Regions from separate parts of the Homo sapiens genome. Here region 1 is linked to region 2. Evidence: promoter capture Hi-C in human tissues and cell types (Jung and others, 2019). All regions are on one chromosome and are shown on one strand. Each heading gives the region's core, a stretch centred on a gene start or on the middle of the fragment in contact. The rest is flanking DNA. Distances are from core to core; before and after follow the strand shown. Region 1 has its middle 29 kb from the start of OR7E24. Region 2 holds the start of ZNF317 (zinc finger protein 317).

Region 1 (5,055 bases), core at 572-3,071, 140 kb before region 2:
TACTACTGCTTACTCTTTGGGTCCACGCTGCTTTTATGAGCTGTAACACTCACCGCGAAGGTCTGCAGCTTCACTCCTGAAGCCAGCGAGACCACGAGCCTACTGGGAGGAACGAACAACTCCAAACGCGCTGCTTTAAGAGCTGTAACACTCACAGTGAAGGTCTGCAGCTTCACTCCTGAGCCAGCGAGACCATGGACCCACCAGAAGGAAGAAACTCCGAACACATCCGAACATCAGAAGGAACAAACTCCAGACGCGCCACTTAAGAGCTGTAACACTCACCGCGAGGGTCTGCGGCTTCATTCTTGAAGTCAGTGAGACCAAGAACCCACCAATTCTGGACACAAGGTGGCTCCTGTGGTGGGTCCACATTGTCAAACCTTCATAGCTCAGTAAGTGTTGAGGGAAATAGGGAAAAGAGATGATTGAGGGGAAAGGCATTGACTTGTTAATCATAGGGCAGGAGAAACCCTGTGATGTCCACGGAGAAGGGGCTGTTGAGGCTGATTTCTTGGAAGGGAGAATGGCTAGACTACTTGCTTAAATAGCCATTGTATAGCGAGCTTTAACTTTGCCTGTATATTACTTGGGTAGATGACTGATGGAGGTTATAGGAAGGGCTACTCTTTGTTGGCCTGGGGCACTGTTTGATATCTTAGCGCTGCCCTGGATCACTCTGTGTGGTCTTGGAGTGACCAATCTGCATTGTACAAATGGATGCTCCAAGGTACATGATAGGAATTGCAATTCTCCCTGGGGCCTGGAGGGAAAGATGGATTTAGGGCAGGCAAAACTAAGGACAAGGAAACAGGGTTGGGGATTCCTCATATCATTGGAATTGAGGGGAACAACTCAGGAATATTTTTGCAGAAGAAAAACAAAGGCCAGGAGAGGTAAAGGAATGAGGTCAATGTCTTGCTAACAATCTCAGCTTAAGGACGAGACTTGACTTCAAGTGAAATGAAGGGAATTATGGAAAAGAATCCTGCAGGTTTCAGTAGGAGCTGTAGGTGCCTTGCAGTGAAGTCCTGGTCACTTCTAGTTCTTTTCACCTACTACCTGACCCAAGAACTTCAGAGGCCCTCAGCCTAGATCAAGCCTCTCTGAATTCTTCTCTGTGACCCTCACTTGCTTGGAAACATCTCCTGCCTCTCCAGAAAGACTTATCCTTCCCCATCCTTCTTTACCCTTATCCATGATTCTAAGTAGACACCTTCAAGAGACAAGCGTCTGTGTTCCCTGGAATGGAAGGCCATGGTGTATAACAACTAGGGTACGATGGGTGAGTGAGGGAAAGTGAAGGGCTCAGGCAAGCCCAACATCCAGTCTCCTCTTGACATCGTATCCTCTGGGGAACACGAGGGAAGCATTGAAACCTGCAGGATTCTTTTCCATAATTCCCTTCATTTCACTTGAAGGTCAAGTCTCATCCTTAAGCTGAGATTGTTAGCAAGACATTGACCTCATTCCTTTACCTCTCCTGGCCTTTGTATTTCTTCTGCAAAAATATTCCTGAGTTGTTCCCCTCAATTCCAATGATATGAAGAATCCCCAACCCTGTTCCCTTATCCTTAGTTTTGCCTGCCCTAAATCCATCTTTCCCTCCAGGCCCCAGGGAGAATTGCAATTCCTATCATGTTACTCCTTTGATTGCCGTTCCTTCACAGCCCCATCCTTTATGGATTATACTTTTCAAAGTTCTTAGACATGTCATCCCTGCCCACCTCTCCAACATCATCCTCATCGTTTCTATCTAACACTTTGTACTTAAGCAGCAGCAAAGGGCTAAGAGAACTCTGTCCCATGCTGCTTCTTGCTTCTAGGCTTATTCCCTTGCTTATATCTCTGCCAGAAATGCCCCTGTGCAACCATTCACCTGGGTAACTCCTTGCCCAGGTATTCCTTCCTCCAGGACTCCTTCCCTGAATGCATTACTCCAGGCTGGATTGAGGGTTCCTCTCTGTACTCCACTCTGTACATCGTTTTATTTTAGCACTTAATTCACTGTGTTACAATGATCTGTTTCTGAATCCATCTTCTGGAAGGTGGAACCATAAGAAAAAAAAGACCACATCATTAATCTTTGTATCCCCAACAGCTAACACTTAGCCTGGCCCAAAGAAGACCCTCTTGCAGAATGGCTGTTAGCACTTTTTCAGTGACTGACAACCTAGTTGTCAACCTAGTTCAATTCTTCTGTACTTCCCAGCACGGCTCAACAAAAATTATGCACCAGGCCACGTGCTGTGGCTCATGCCTGTAATCCCAGCACTTTGGGAGGCCGAGGTGGGCAGATCACCTGAGGTTGGGAGTTGAAGACCAGCCTGGCCAACATGGTAAAACTAACTAGTTTTTGTAAAAAACTAGCTAGTTAGTTTTGTATTTTTACAAAAACTAGCTGGGCATGGTGGTGCACACCTGTAATCCCAGCTACTCAGGAGGCTGAGGCAGGAGAATTGTTTGAACCCGGGAGGCAGAGGTTATAGTGAGCCGAGATTGCGCCACTGAACTCTCCAGCCTGGGTGACAGCTCAAGACTCTGTCTCAAAAGAAAAGAAAACAAACAAAAACCCAACAACAACAAAAAAAATTGTGCACCAACACTAGACACTAGAAACAGATTAGGACATATTTATTATGTGGATGGAAAAAGAGAATCATATAAGTGTCAAATGACTGTATCTTTCTGGTCTCTAATTTTGAAACCCTGGTTCTAAGGTAGAAAGTTTTTAATGTGCGGTCAGCTTCTTAAGATGAATGTTATTACTGGTAATGTCATGACCTATTTGAATCAGAATTTGGCTGCCACCATAATTCCAAGTGGGACTTAAGGCAACAAGTAACCCTTCCTTCCTTCCTTCCTTCCTTCCTTCCTTCCTTCCTTCCTTCCTTCCTTTCTTCCTTTCCTTCCTTCCTTCTTTCCTTCCTTCCCTTCCTTCCTCCTTCCCTCCCTCCCTTCCTCTTTCCTTCCTTGAAAACCTAAATCCACTCATCTTGCAATATTTTGTCTAGCTATTATCTCTGCTTTCATATTTTCTCACTGCTCAGACATAGTTGTCTGACCTTCTTCAGTCTCAGTTGTGTCTTAGACAAGGAAGATGACCCTGACCTTTTCTTAAGTTCACTGAACCTTATATGTGTTAGAGCAGGTGCAGACCATTTTATCTCTAAGGTCTAAAGTTGCTCTTGGTAGATTTGATGATTCTAAAGCAGAGAAAAAGGGAATGGGTAAGCCTCTGAGAGGCCAATGAACAGGGGTTAGTCAACGTTATGAAATGTTGCCTATAACAAATGACAGAATGTAGGATTCCTAAGTTTTGCTATTTTAAAGCTTTTGTATCCAATTATTCACCTCAAGAAATAAAAAAGCAGAGAGATTTTGGAGCCTGTTCAGCATCTATTTCATGTTTCTTCCCTTCCTTAACTGTCTAGCTGATGTGTCAGCAACATGGACTTGGGAAATCAAACAAGAGTTTCAGAATTTTTACTCCTGGGATTTTCCCAAGACCTAGAGGATCAACAGTTGCTCTTTGCACTGTTTCTGTCCATGTACCTGGTCACCGTTCTGGGGAACCTGCTCATCATCCTGGCCATCAGCTCTGACTCCCACCTCCACACCCCCAGGTACTTCTTCCTCTCCAATCTGTCCCTGGCTGACATCGGTTTCACCTCCACCGCAGTCCCCAAGATGCTGGTGAACATCCAGGTGCAGAGCAATGCCATCAGCTATGCAGACTGCATCGCCCAGATGTATGTTTTTCATGGTTTTTGGAGGCATGGACACATTTCTCCTCACCGTGATGGCCTATGACCGGTATGTGGCCATCTGTCACCCCCTGTACTACTGTGTCACCAGGAACCCCTGCCTCTGTGGCCTGCTGGTTCTTGTGTCCTGGTTCCTCAGCTTGTCATACTCCCTGATCCAGAGTCTGTTGGTGCTGCGGGTGTCCTTCTGCACCAGTTGAGTCATTCAGCACTTTTACTGTGAGCTTGCTCAGGTCCTCAGGCTTACCTGCTCAGACACACATGTCAATTACATCCTGCTCTACGTGGTGGCCGGCCTTCTGGACTTTGTGCCCTTCTCAGGGATCCTTTTCTCCTACACCCAAATTGTCTCCTACATCCTGAGAATCTCATCCACAGATGGGAAACACAAAGCCTTTTCTACCTGTGGATCTCATCTGTTTGTGGTTTCTTTATTCTATGGGACAGGCCTTGGTGTGTATCTTAGTTCCAATGCATCGTCCTCTTCCTGGTGGGGCATGGTGGCCTCGGTCATGTACACTGTGGTCACCCCCATGCTGAACCCCTTCATCTATTGCTTGCGGAACAGGGACATCAAGAGGACCCTAGAAACACTGCTTGGGAGAATGCTGTATGCTCAATGACGGGGACATTGGTCCTGGGCTTCTGAGTTGGCAGAGGTAGCAGCAGTGAGCTAAAGAAATTCTGGACCAGCCTGGGCAACATAGCAAGACCCTGTCTCTACAAAAAAAATATAAAATTTAGCCAGGCATGGTGGTGTACCTGTGGTCCCAGCTACTCAGGAGGCTGAGGTGGGAGGATCCCTTGAGTCCAGGAGGCTGAGGCTTCAGTGAGTCGAGATCATGCCACTGCACTCTAGCCTGGGCAATAGAGCCAGACCCTGTCTCAAAAACAACAGCAACTAAAGAAATTCTGCCTGTAGGCCAGGCGCAGTGGCTCACACCTGTAATCCCAGTGCTTTGGGAGGCTGAGACAGGAAGATCACTTGAGACCAGAAGTTCAAGACCAGTTTGGGCAACAAAGATAGTAAAATGTCTCAAAAAAAAAATTCTGCCTCTTAATCTCATGGAATTTGTTTCTCTGTTTCTCTGCCTTTGGTCAACATTACCTTGTGAGTACTGTGAGTACTTTGTATGAGTCTTATACAAAGAGACTTCTCTGTTATCCTTCAGTTCTACCCTTTCATCTCCTCTTACATTTTCCACGATTGCACCTCAGCTTGGTGTTTGTAGATTTGTTTGTGTTGATTCCTGAGGGTTAATACAACAAGTTTAAGTACTTAACTCAG
Region 2 (3,347 bases), core at 187-2,686:
TCCATCTCAAAAAGGAAAAAACAACAACAACAACAAAAAACACTTTATTGAAAGGCATTAAAGAAGATGTAAATAAATGATGTAAATCAATTAACTGCAACTCAATGGCATAAAAACGACAATATTCCCAAAGTTCAAATATAGATTCACCACAACTTGAAAACAAAAGTCCAGTATGTGGAATTTGGTGAACTGACTAGAATTTAAGCCATGACATTCCTGAAAAAGAATGGCTAGGTGTAAGTACTTCATCTACAAGATATTTAGAAATCTCTAAATTACAAAGGTGTGCTTGAATCAATACAGAAAAAGATTGTTTCCAAAAATACTGAAGCGCCTGAGTTCATTCACAAATAATTACCAAAATTTAGGAAATATATTTTCTGGAAAAGATGTATACGCAGTCAAATCCACGGAGACAGTATTGGTGGGAGAGGAGGATGCAGTTTAGAAGAGGCACACAGCTTTCTGAGATTTAATAATCTCTTTCTTGGCCTGGTTTGTAAATTCGCTTTACTGTTGTCCTTTTAAGTGTGTGTAAGTCTGCGTGTGTGTGTAATCATACTTTTTTTGCATGTATGTCCTATTTTCCAGTGTTAAAATATGTGCATAGGAAAGGACACACCACAAAATAAGACGGTAAAATTCAATGGAAAATATTAATAATCACGATAAGTATAACTGGACTAACTCAAGTTAATTAACAAAATGTTGAACTGAATAGTAAATATACATATAGGCTATTTACAAGAGTCCACTAAAATTAAAATAAATAAAAAAGTGCAACCAGAAGGTCTTAAATTAAAAATATAAAAGGTACTCAAGGTAAGTGCTAATAAGAACACCAATGTGCTGACATTCACGAGATAAAATTGACTACAGCGCAGAAAGAAGGTGATTTCTCCTCGCGATGTCCAAATCCTGACGCCCCCCAATCTCCTGAACTGCCCCCAAACTCTTGAATTCACTTCAGCCGGGCTTTTCCGCCCCCACCAGAGACTTAGGGCTTTTCAGGATCAGGTGACCAATGCTTCTCTCATCACTAGCTGCAATGGTCCAATTTTATCCTTCGCGTCCCCAGCTTTTCATATCGCTGATCGCGAGATCTAAACGCACCCCTCGTCTGGATGCCTAGCTCTTTAGCCCCCGACCCTCGTACCCTCTTAGTCCTCACCGCCAGATAGGCCTCCCGTGACCCCTGGAACTGAGGGGGAGAAGGGTTAAGGAAAGCAGGGCTTACACGACTGGGAATAGGATCGGGGGAGCGGAGGTGACGGAAGCCGCCGCCGATGCGAAGAGAAGTTCATACGGGAGGTCCAGTCTGGCGTGGGGACACGAGGGGTCCCCAACAGGCCGAAAGAATTCGCCGCTGACCCCTCCTTGGCCCATGTGTCTCGGGGCAATCGACTCCAGAGAGTAATGGCTTCCGCTTCACTGCCGCCTTCCAATTCTCGCGGGACTTCATTGGCGGCGTCTAATACGGAAGCGGGGCGGAGAGGATGCTGGGAATTGTAGTTTTGAAGTTTGGATTGGCATGGCGGCCGTGCCCCGGTGGAATCTGACGGTCCAGCATATTTCTCCAATTTCTACTCAAGACTCAAATTTTCAACCACAACCCACAGCATTTTGTAGCCATCGTAGTGGTAAAGGTTGAATCAGGCAAGAATTGTCATCTACATGACACAACTGGGGGACATTTGCATGACGAGCAGAATATTTGAATTGCCTTAAATGCCTCTCTATAAACTGCTCGTATGTTGGAATGGAGAAAAAGTAATAGAAATTGTACAGCGAAGAAATTGGACAACATCTGGACCAGGTGATCAAATCAATATCACCAGTGAGGGTCAGATGGAGACCACGTGCCTCTGAATGACACCTTGGGAAGGGCGTAAAATCACCATCACCTGTGTGGTGTTCATCCTGCATATCTGCTATTTTGTATTTTTTGACCCACATCTTCCCATTTTCTTCCCCAACTGCCTCATTCTTTATTTCTGTGTATTTGAGCTGTCTCTCTTGATTAAAAAAAGTTCCTCATGTAAGTGACGTCATGCAATATTTTTCTTTTTGTGTCTGGCTTATTTCACTTAGCGTAATGTCCTCCAGGTCCACCCATCTTGTGATAAATGTCAGGACCTCCTTCTATTTCAAGGTTGAATAATATTCCGTTATATATATTATATGTTTTATACAATGGAATATATATTATATCATATTTATTATAATTATGTATTATGTGTATTATTACCGTATATTATATAATATATGCTAAAATAATATATGTATGTATGTTATATATATTATGGAATATATATTATATATAATATATATTATTTTAGCAGGAGGAGTCTGCATATACAAAATTCCAGAATCAGGCTGGGTACAGTGGCTCACACCTGTAATCTCAACACTTTAGGAAACCAAGGCTTCCCATGTAACCAGTAGGGGCAGAATTATATAGGCAGGAGAGACAGATGGTTAGTATTATCCAGGGCAGGTATTATAAAAGACAGAGAGAAGGAAATTTGAGGTTTTGGAAAATATATTATTGAGGGGATGGACCATGGTGCGTATATATATATATACACACACATATAAAATGTATGTATGGAATATATATGGATATAAGATATTCATATATAATATATAATCTATATTACATAACGTAATATATATTTCATAATACATAATATATACACCATAATATATAGCATATATACATATAATAATACATATAATATATAATATGTATTTCATATAGTATATTATATACATATATTACATATAATATATTACATGATATATAACATAATGGGAATATCTATTATGTAATAGGTATATATTTATATACAACATATTATATTAATATTTAATATAATATGAAATATATATCAATATTATATGATATTAATGTTGACATCATATATAAATACAAAAGAGATAGAATATTATTCAGACTACATAGCTGCTATTTTGTATTTCGTATTCATGTGAGCATCAATGGACATTCAGGTTGTTTCCGTAACTTGGATATTGTAAATAATGCTACAATGAAAATGAAAGTGCAGACATCGTTATGAGGTGATTATTTCATCTCTTTTAGGCATATATTCAAAAGAGGAATTGCTGGGTCATATAGTAGTTCTGTTGTAGATTTCTTTAAGAGCCTGAATACTGTTTTCCACAAAGGTTGTACCAGTCTGCATTCCCACCAACAATGTACTAGGGTTCACTTTGCTTGATGCCCTCGCCAACATTCATCTCTCATCTTTTTTTTCCTTTTTTTTTTTCTTTTTGCAATGGAGTTTCGTTCTTGTTTCCCAGGCTGGGGGGCAATGGTGAGA

What was found. The method cuts DNA at HindIII sites, captures the fragments that hold promoters and counts their contacts. A contact is called where the count stands out against the background at its distance.
Region 1: a contact is called between a fragment that was not itself captured here and the fragment with the promoter of ZNF317 in region 2, in 2 of the 25 tissues and cell types used here (H1 embryonic stem cells and lymphoblastoid cells).

What each region holds. Positions count from the first base shown.
Region 1 is chr19:9,277,765-9,282,819 of GRCh38, reverse strand. It overlaps the pseudogene OR7H1P. Among named protein-coding and RNA genes, the nearest start is that of OR7E24, 29 kb to the right of the region's middle. The HindIII fragment of the contact is 5,089 bases long and covers 1-4,365 here.
Region 2 is chr19:9,138,486-9,141,832 of GRCh38, reverse strand. It overlaps ZNF317 (zinc finger protein 317), which reads right to left and starts at 1,436. Exons shown (of 7, transcript NM_020933.5): 1 at 1,241-1,436. RefSeq lists enhancers at 1,414-1,623, 1,674-1,773. The HindIII fragment of the contact is 13,678 bases long and covers 1-3,347 here.